2 separate regions of the Homo sapiens genome follow, and region 2 is linked to region 1. Evidence: promoter capture Hi-C in 16 types of primary human blood cells and fetal thymus (Javierre and others, 2016). All regions are on one chromosome and are shown on one strand. Each heading gives the region's core, a stretch centred on a gene start or on the middle of the fragment in contact. The rest is flanking DNA. Distances are from core to core; before and after follow the strand shown.

Region 1 (3,655 bases), core at 733-3,232:
CTGAAGATTTTAAACAAACAAACATCCCCAAAGAAAACAACAATAATAACAGCACACACCTCAGGTGAATCTGAACAGTCAGGTTTGAGATCTACTGAACTCAGATCACCCCTAAGATATGCTTTTAAACCCAGTTGTGAACTCCTTGTGACCACAACCATAGATTATTAATCAAAGTGCTTATTTTAGTGTTGCCTTGAGCGCAACAATCAAGAAATGTTTATTGACTTGGGTTTTATTTTATAGGCTAATATGGCTGGCAGTTTTTGTTTCTTTTGATGCTTTCAGGGACTTCTAAATATTGCAGATTTTCACACACAAAGAACAGTCTGACAATTAAGATTAGAGAAGGTAAAGAATAAACTAAACTAGACTTGCCCTAAATGTGACCAGAATTTCTTGAAGGGGTTAGAAATAACAGAGTCAGAGAAGCATATAGGTAAACATATAATTTCAAAGGAATTGCTGAACGCAGTGATGATACAAGTATGCACAAGGTGGTTCTGTTGGAGTAGAGAACTGGGCAGAATCAAAACCAATAATACCTCATAATTGTATAGTGCTTTACAATTTATACATTTCATTCACCTACATCATCTCACTTATCCTTACAAAGCCCTATATAAAATATTAAAATATTACAACCTCATTTGTAAAAATTAATAAAACGAGGCTCTAAGGGGTGAGAAAATAGAATTTCAGAATCAGAAATAACCTCTGTTAGTGTCCCCCAAACTTCAGTCATTTGCAAATCACCTTTATTAGTTTTGCCATATCTGACTACCACCCATACTATTGTTTACCTAGTATTTTTTATTACGTTGACACACTTGAACTTTTTTTATTCTAAGAAATATTTTTGAAATTATGGGTCTGTGTCATACTTTTAGAAGTTAACATTATAATAAAATAAACTTAAAAAAATTGGTGCCATGCTTTAGAACTTTCTTCAGCACAATACATGAAAATCTTAACACATCTGATGACCGATTAATCCTTCAGTTTCTACTTGCACATCTGCAGTAATCTTAGGCAAGTTCCTTAATTTCGCCATACCTGCTTCGTCATCTTTAAAATGGGAACCCACAGGATTCTTGTGTGGATAAATGAAATCATATATTTAAAGCTATTAGCAGTTCCTGACAGGTACTCGGCTTTCGATAAGTGTTAGCTATCATTGTTAGCTTTAGGGCTGCTTTTTCTTCTTCTTCTCATATTCTCATAATTGTAAAGTCCTTTTAAAATTGTGTCCCCAAAGACACTTCTGTTCCTTTCCCCAATTTAACTAAACTGCCAAAAGTTGAAAAGAGGACTTTAAAGTGACAGGTATACTCGTTATTGTCGTATTTCCCGTCATCACTGCTTTAGAGTACGGAGGTAAAATAATAGGCGGGCGTCAAAATCCTTCGATTTTAGAGCTTTTGCAGGGGATACCAAGACTGAGGTAGAACAGCCCTAAACCTGGAGGGCCGCCTATTGGGCAACCTAGAGCACACCTTTCCTCAGGCCAAACCCAGCGCGCCCGGGGTAGTCTCGAGTTCTCAGGTTACCCCTCAGTGACAGCCCTTTCTTGAGTTCCTTCTCCTTCGCGTCAGTCTCTCGTTCTCCCACCCCGCCCCTCTAGACCAGGTGAGGTTTCCTCCCTCACACTCCTAGGGGACATCGCGTCAATCTGGCTTATATATTGTCTCCTCTGAGTTTGATCTTTCGCTCAACGCCTAGTCACCTGTGACTTAGGTTTCCGTCTCGCCGAAGAGTAGCTACTGCCTAGTGCAAGCACCTTTGTAAGACCGGCGATCGCAGTGGTCGCTCTGAGCAGTAATATTTACCGGCTTAACTGAAGCACCCGCTCTTTTGCTTGCTGGGAGATGTAGTCCCTGGGTTGGCCACTTTAGTTCATCGTTGCTACCGCCGGCGTCCAGAAGACTACAGTTCCCAGCAGGCCCAGGGAAAGACAGGATACCCTGGGTCGGCTCCTCCACGTGACCACCCACTATGGCTTCCTAGTGTCAGGGCCAGCTGTGTAGTGGCTCGGTGTGATTTGTTAGCTCTTTGAGGCAGGGTACCCTCCTCAGGATTTCGATATGCAAAAAATCAAATCTCTCATGACCCGACAGGTAAGTCGCGGCGGCTGAAGCAAAGGCTTCCTTCATCTCGGAAGTGAGAGGAGCCGAGATGTTCTGTCCCCAACCAGTGGCGGGCGGGGATCTAAGTTATGGGTGGTGGCAGGTGTCAGGGGGACTGGGAAGCCGGGGCATACCCTAGAAAACTCACCTGGGCCGCCTGGGTTGGAGCACTGCTCCAGCGGGTACCAGCCTCCCAGAAATATTCGTTTAAAAATAAGTCATTGAAGGAATCAGGGTATCTTTGTCTCCCCTCCTCCTCTTTTTGCCGTCTTTCCAGAACAGCCCGAGCTTCCTTGCAAGGTCTTCCGCATCCAGGCTGTCTGTCATATGCGAGCTGATAGCCTGGGTAGGGTGGTGTGGTCTGTGCAGTAGAGGTGACCTGGAAAGACTGAAAACGGATGATTTGAAGACAGAATTAGTAGCTTTTGGATTTTGGGCAAGTCCCCAAACTTTGTAGCTTACGTTTCTGGATGTGAAAATAATTATTTTTGTTCATTTTACTTCACAGTTCTGTTATGAGGGTCATCGATAAGCTAATATATGTGAAAACTCTTTGTGAAATTCTGCTTTAAAAAATTTATTTTTGTCATGGCAAAATACTGATCTTTTCTTTTTTTTCCCCAGAATGGAAATTCATGAATAAGAGCTTTGGCTATTTTGTAACCTGTCTCATAAATGTTAGGGACCTCGTAATAATGCCTCAGCTTCATTTAAGAAGTGCAGAAATTTTCTTTTATGTACTTATTGATTATGACTTTGTTTTAGCTGCCTTTATTTACTTCAGCTTTAATATTTCACTAGAATTGGTCATTTTATTATTTTAATATGAAAGATAGTTAAGATTAGAGTTTTAAATCAACATGGCTTTTAGAAGTTTGGAGAATGTGGAAGGTAATCGTTTAGTGAAAGGTATATTTGTGAGTTTTTTTCTTGTTGATTACAAAAATAACTCAAATTCCACATTCTTATTTGAGAATTCACAATTTGAGAGATATATAAACAGGATACAAATTGTGTATTTCTCTTGCACAATGCACAAATGACCCTTACATGATTATTTTAGTTATGTCAGAGCATTTTGTTAATGTTATGAAAATATAATCAAAATGTTCTGTGAATAATAAAAATATTTAAGTAAGTGGCTAGTAACATTTGTTAATTCCTCACATGTGTTGAGTACTGGTGTTGTGCGTCCTACTACTTCTTACTTGACGATGAGTTTGGGTCCTGCTGTATCCTGTGGCAGCTGTGTGACTTTCGGCAAGTTACATAACGTTTTTAAGCATCTATTTCCACATCTTTAAAATAGGAATAATGTGTGCCTTATGGAGTTAGCCTGATAGTGGTGTTTACATGATATAATGAAGTTAAAGAGTTTAAGGCGTTAACGGAGTTCCTGGGCATTATCAAGGAAGTGCTTGAACGCAGAGACCGTTAGTTACATTGGCTATGTTGATGGTGGGAAAGCAGGAAAATTGGAAGCAGGCTGTTGCAGTAATTCAAGCAATAGATAAGTTCATGCTGACTTC
Region 2 (3,655 bases), core at 692-3,191, 1.2 Mb after region 1:
TTAATATTCAATGGCCGAGATAGTTCTTTAGGAAAACTACCCTGTGATATCTTAAGAGTTATTAACCCTCTTTCTAAAATAGACTCATAAGTGAATTTCAATCAATGACAAATATAGTATATTAAATTTCCACCCTACTTGCACATAGAAAGGTCTGAACAACTGATCTTACCACATATAATTCTTAGGTTTCTACAGGGCCTGTCTAACCTGACCTTACTCACTTTTTACATAACAGGGTCCACCAGGCCCCCCAGGCAGAGATGGTGAAGATGGTCCCACAGGCCCTCCTGGTCCACCTGGTCCTCCTGGCCCCCCTGGTCTCGGTGGGGTAAGGTGTCTTACGTATTGCTAACTTTTAGCTAACTTCAGTTGAAAGAAGGTTTATTGTGGAATTTATTTTTAGCAGTTAAGGGATAATTCTTCCATTTGAAAATTAGTATATTTTATTTCATTTATTTGGTTTTTTCACTCAAGATTCTGCTTTACCCATTCTCTTTGTGAGCCCTTGTCAATTACAGGACTGGTCTTTGTGTGCACTGAAGTTAGCTGTGGCCATCATTACCATTATTTAATTTGGAGATTTAATATCTTTTATTAGTAAGGCACAAATAAGAGGTGTTGCATTATTAAGGATTTTGATTAGATTGAACTGTGTAAGTGAAATCCCTGATCTTAAGCAATTTTACAAACATCCTACGCTTTTTATTCTCCTTGACTTGAAGTCTGCTGAACCAACATTCAAAGCGGTTTTAGGTTTAATTTGCTTGAAACTAATTTGAGAAAAGTACATTTCCCTTTTTCATTAATATCTTCTTTTAGCTTCATGTCTTTAACAATGGTATGAGTGCCAAATGACCTCACTGCAGGAAGGAAAACATATTTGCTTAATTGGTTAGCACTATGAATCAGAAGCCTGATTCTAATACCCAACTGTATGTCAGTAAAATAAGACCTTTCTCCCCCAAAGATCTTATTATGATTGCTTATCTATGAATTGCATTAAAAAGCAGCTTCTTTAATAGAGCTACCACTATAAGAGAGATCTTTAACAGTAAAGTTATTACTGTGAACTAGTTTTTAGAAGTTTTATCTTCCAAGGGGTATTTTAATTTAATTTTCCTCTAAACTTGAAAACTCTTTATGCCCTTCCTGAAACTCCAGCAAGAAAAAGATCTCTTAGTCATTTTGTGTAGCTCCGGTGGGGAAGGGCAACAGGTGAAAATGTGAAGATGTCCTCTTGAGCTCTGTCTAATTTGTCAGGAGCCCTTAGTAACATTAAAAGTTTAGAAAGCTTCCCTTCCTCAGAGTAGAGGTAAAAGGTGGGAGTGGAGACACCGAGTTAAGGCAGAGGAAGGGCTCAAAAAGTAAAGTAGGGAAGTTCTCCATTTCAAAGAGGTGTCGGCCAAGTTTTTGACGTACAGCTCTCATAACTTTTTAGGAATTTAGTTCAATATAGAATTTTAAACTAATAATTATATCAAAAACATTGCCCTCTTTTAAATAACAACAGAAAAATATTTACAAGTAGAATGAGAAAATGAACTACATGACTAGTAACTAAAAATATTTTATATATATATATAATTTTTTTTTTTTACTTCTCTAGAACTTTGCTGCTCAGTATGATGGAAAAGGAGTTGGACTTGGCCCTGGACCAATGGTATGCTTATCTGTTTATCTTAGCCAAAAAAATTGCTAAATAAATCATTCATTTTATGTCACATTTTACCACGCCATTTATTTAGCTACCTAAGTTAACACTCAATACTTAGATTATATAAAAACAACTCTTTTTGTTTTCAAATTTATGAAAACATAAGTTAAGGAGTTCACTTTTCTTTACAAAAGAAAGATTAATTGATCTTTTATGATTATATGATCTTTTTGATTATATGATCCTCATTAAGATAGATCATATACTTATGTCCAAGAAATAATCTTTGGACATAGTAACCATAACTTGGGCAAATCAATTTAATTTAAAACAGTAATCACTCTGATTAATTTTTTAATATTCTTTAACATTGCTTAGAATTTTAAGCAACACTTAGAGGCATAGAACTATTTATTAAGTTCTCTGAACTTGTTGGAAAGGATCAACAAGTTCTATCTAGTCCAGCTAACTCATTTTAAAATGGGAGAGTTTAAGCCCTTTTCTCAAAGTCATCCAGGTAACTAATGACATAACTAGAACTAGATGCCAGGCAAGATGTCTAATATTTGCTTACATCATGGTTTATGTACCTAGTCCTTGAATAAACCACTCATTTAGTCAACAGATATTAATCAGATGCCTTCAATGGGCCCTAAACTGTATTAGGAACTGGGGAAATTACAAGGAATATGACAGATTCTGATCCTTCCTCAAGGAGTTAACAATATAGGAAATGTTTCTTTTTCTGAATTTTGACCAAAAAAATCCTTTTTTAGTCTATTGATTGTAAATCTATATAGAAGAGAGTATGAGTAAAAATCTAGCATTTATGTCACTCAGTACAAATATTCAGCACCATACCCTATCAGTGGAGCACCGCTTAGAAACATTCCCTATATGATGATGATGATGATGATGACTATTAACAAATGAAGCTTCTAACAAGCATTAGAGAGAAGTTTGAAGGGAAAAATGCTAATACGAGCATGCAAAATGTATACTAGCATATATGAAATAGAGGGGAAAACTGCCAGAAGTCAAAGTGTTAGGTTGATTAAGCACTACAGAATTTAATGTATACACACACACGCAATTTAGTGATTTTAATTAATTGTTTCAAAACAAAGGTATTTATCTGCCCAAAGTCAACAAGGTCTTTAAAATGTAAATTTTACCTGGGCAGTGCACTTAGTGCTCTATCTTCAAAAGAAGATGTTCTGCTGGAGCTAATGGCCCACAGTAAGCTAATATACTCTAAGGGTGAGATAATATTTTCTGTAAATTAAAACTCCCACTTGAGAAATAATGTACCTTTAATTGACGACTTCTAATTCCCTAATTTTTTCTGGTAGTTTAAAATGTTCATATCTGAAATGAAAAAGTAGAGTGTTTCTTTTGGCTTTGTTTATATTGGATTTTTGAAATTAGCTGTTTCAGCTAATGCTGGACATTAGTCAGTTTTAAAGCAGTACCTACATCTCAAGAAGAAGCAAGGGGGCGGAAAGTAAAGAGCTACTAAATGTCATTTTTAAAAAGCCCACTAAGCTGGGAAAATTAATATGGATTTCAGATACCCCTGTTTTCGGAACATCTGTCTTGGCATAAAGCAGAGTATTTTACTTTGAAATATCAGTGAAATATAATTTAAGCTTGCACATCCACACACATGCACAGACATATGTAATCAACAGATATCTGTTTCACAAATAGGGAAGATAGGCAGCAATAAAGTATTAAAATAATTTCCATGTTGGAAAATCAATAACTATAAAACCCCACAGGGTTCTTCTCTGAATTAATGAGTAATCACAGCCTCCATGAAATACACTACATTTTATGTAAATGAAATTGTTGCAAATACATGAAAAAATAAATATAATTAGAAATTCATGATGTCAAAGAAAATTATTTTTTAATGTATGCCTAAAAAGCTATTGTGATGGAAAAGTGACAGTTTCTTTTAATGTCAGAGCAATTTCTAAAACCAAATGAATAATT

What was found. The method cuts DNA at HindIII sites, captures the fragments that hold promoters and counts their contacts. A CHiCAGO score of 5 or more calls a contact.
Region 2: a contact is called between a fragment that was not itself captured here and the fragment with the promoter of VPS50 in region 1, in 1 of 17 cell types (naive B cells). The highest score is 5.1, in naive B cells.

The regions. Positions count from the first base shown.
Region 1 is chr7:93,230,384-93,234,038 of GRCh38, forward strand. It overlaps VPS50 (VPS50 subunit of EARP/GARPII complex), which reads left to right and starts at 1,983. Exons shown (of 28, transcript NM_017667.4): 1 at 1,983-2,117. The coding sequence starts at 2,085. It also overlaps a transcript of HEPACAM2 not described here. RefSeq lists enhancers at 1,684-1,753, 1,894-2,063, 2,154-2,203, 2,444-2,503. The HindIII fragment of the contact is 4,774 bases long and covers 1-3,655 here.
Region 2 is chr7:94,399,958-94,403,612 of GRCh38, forward strand. COL1A2 (collagen type I alpha 2 chain) reads left to right here. Exons shown (of 52, transcript NM_000089.4): 5 at 239-331; 6 at 1,610-1,663. Among named protein-coding and RNA genes, the nearest start is that of COL1A2, 6.9 kb to the left of the region's middle. The HindIII fragment of the contact is 1,298 bases long and covers 1,293-2,590 here.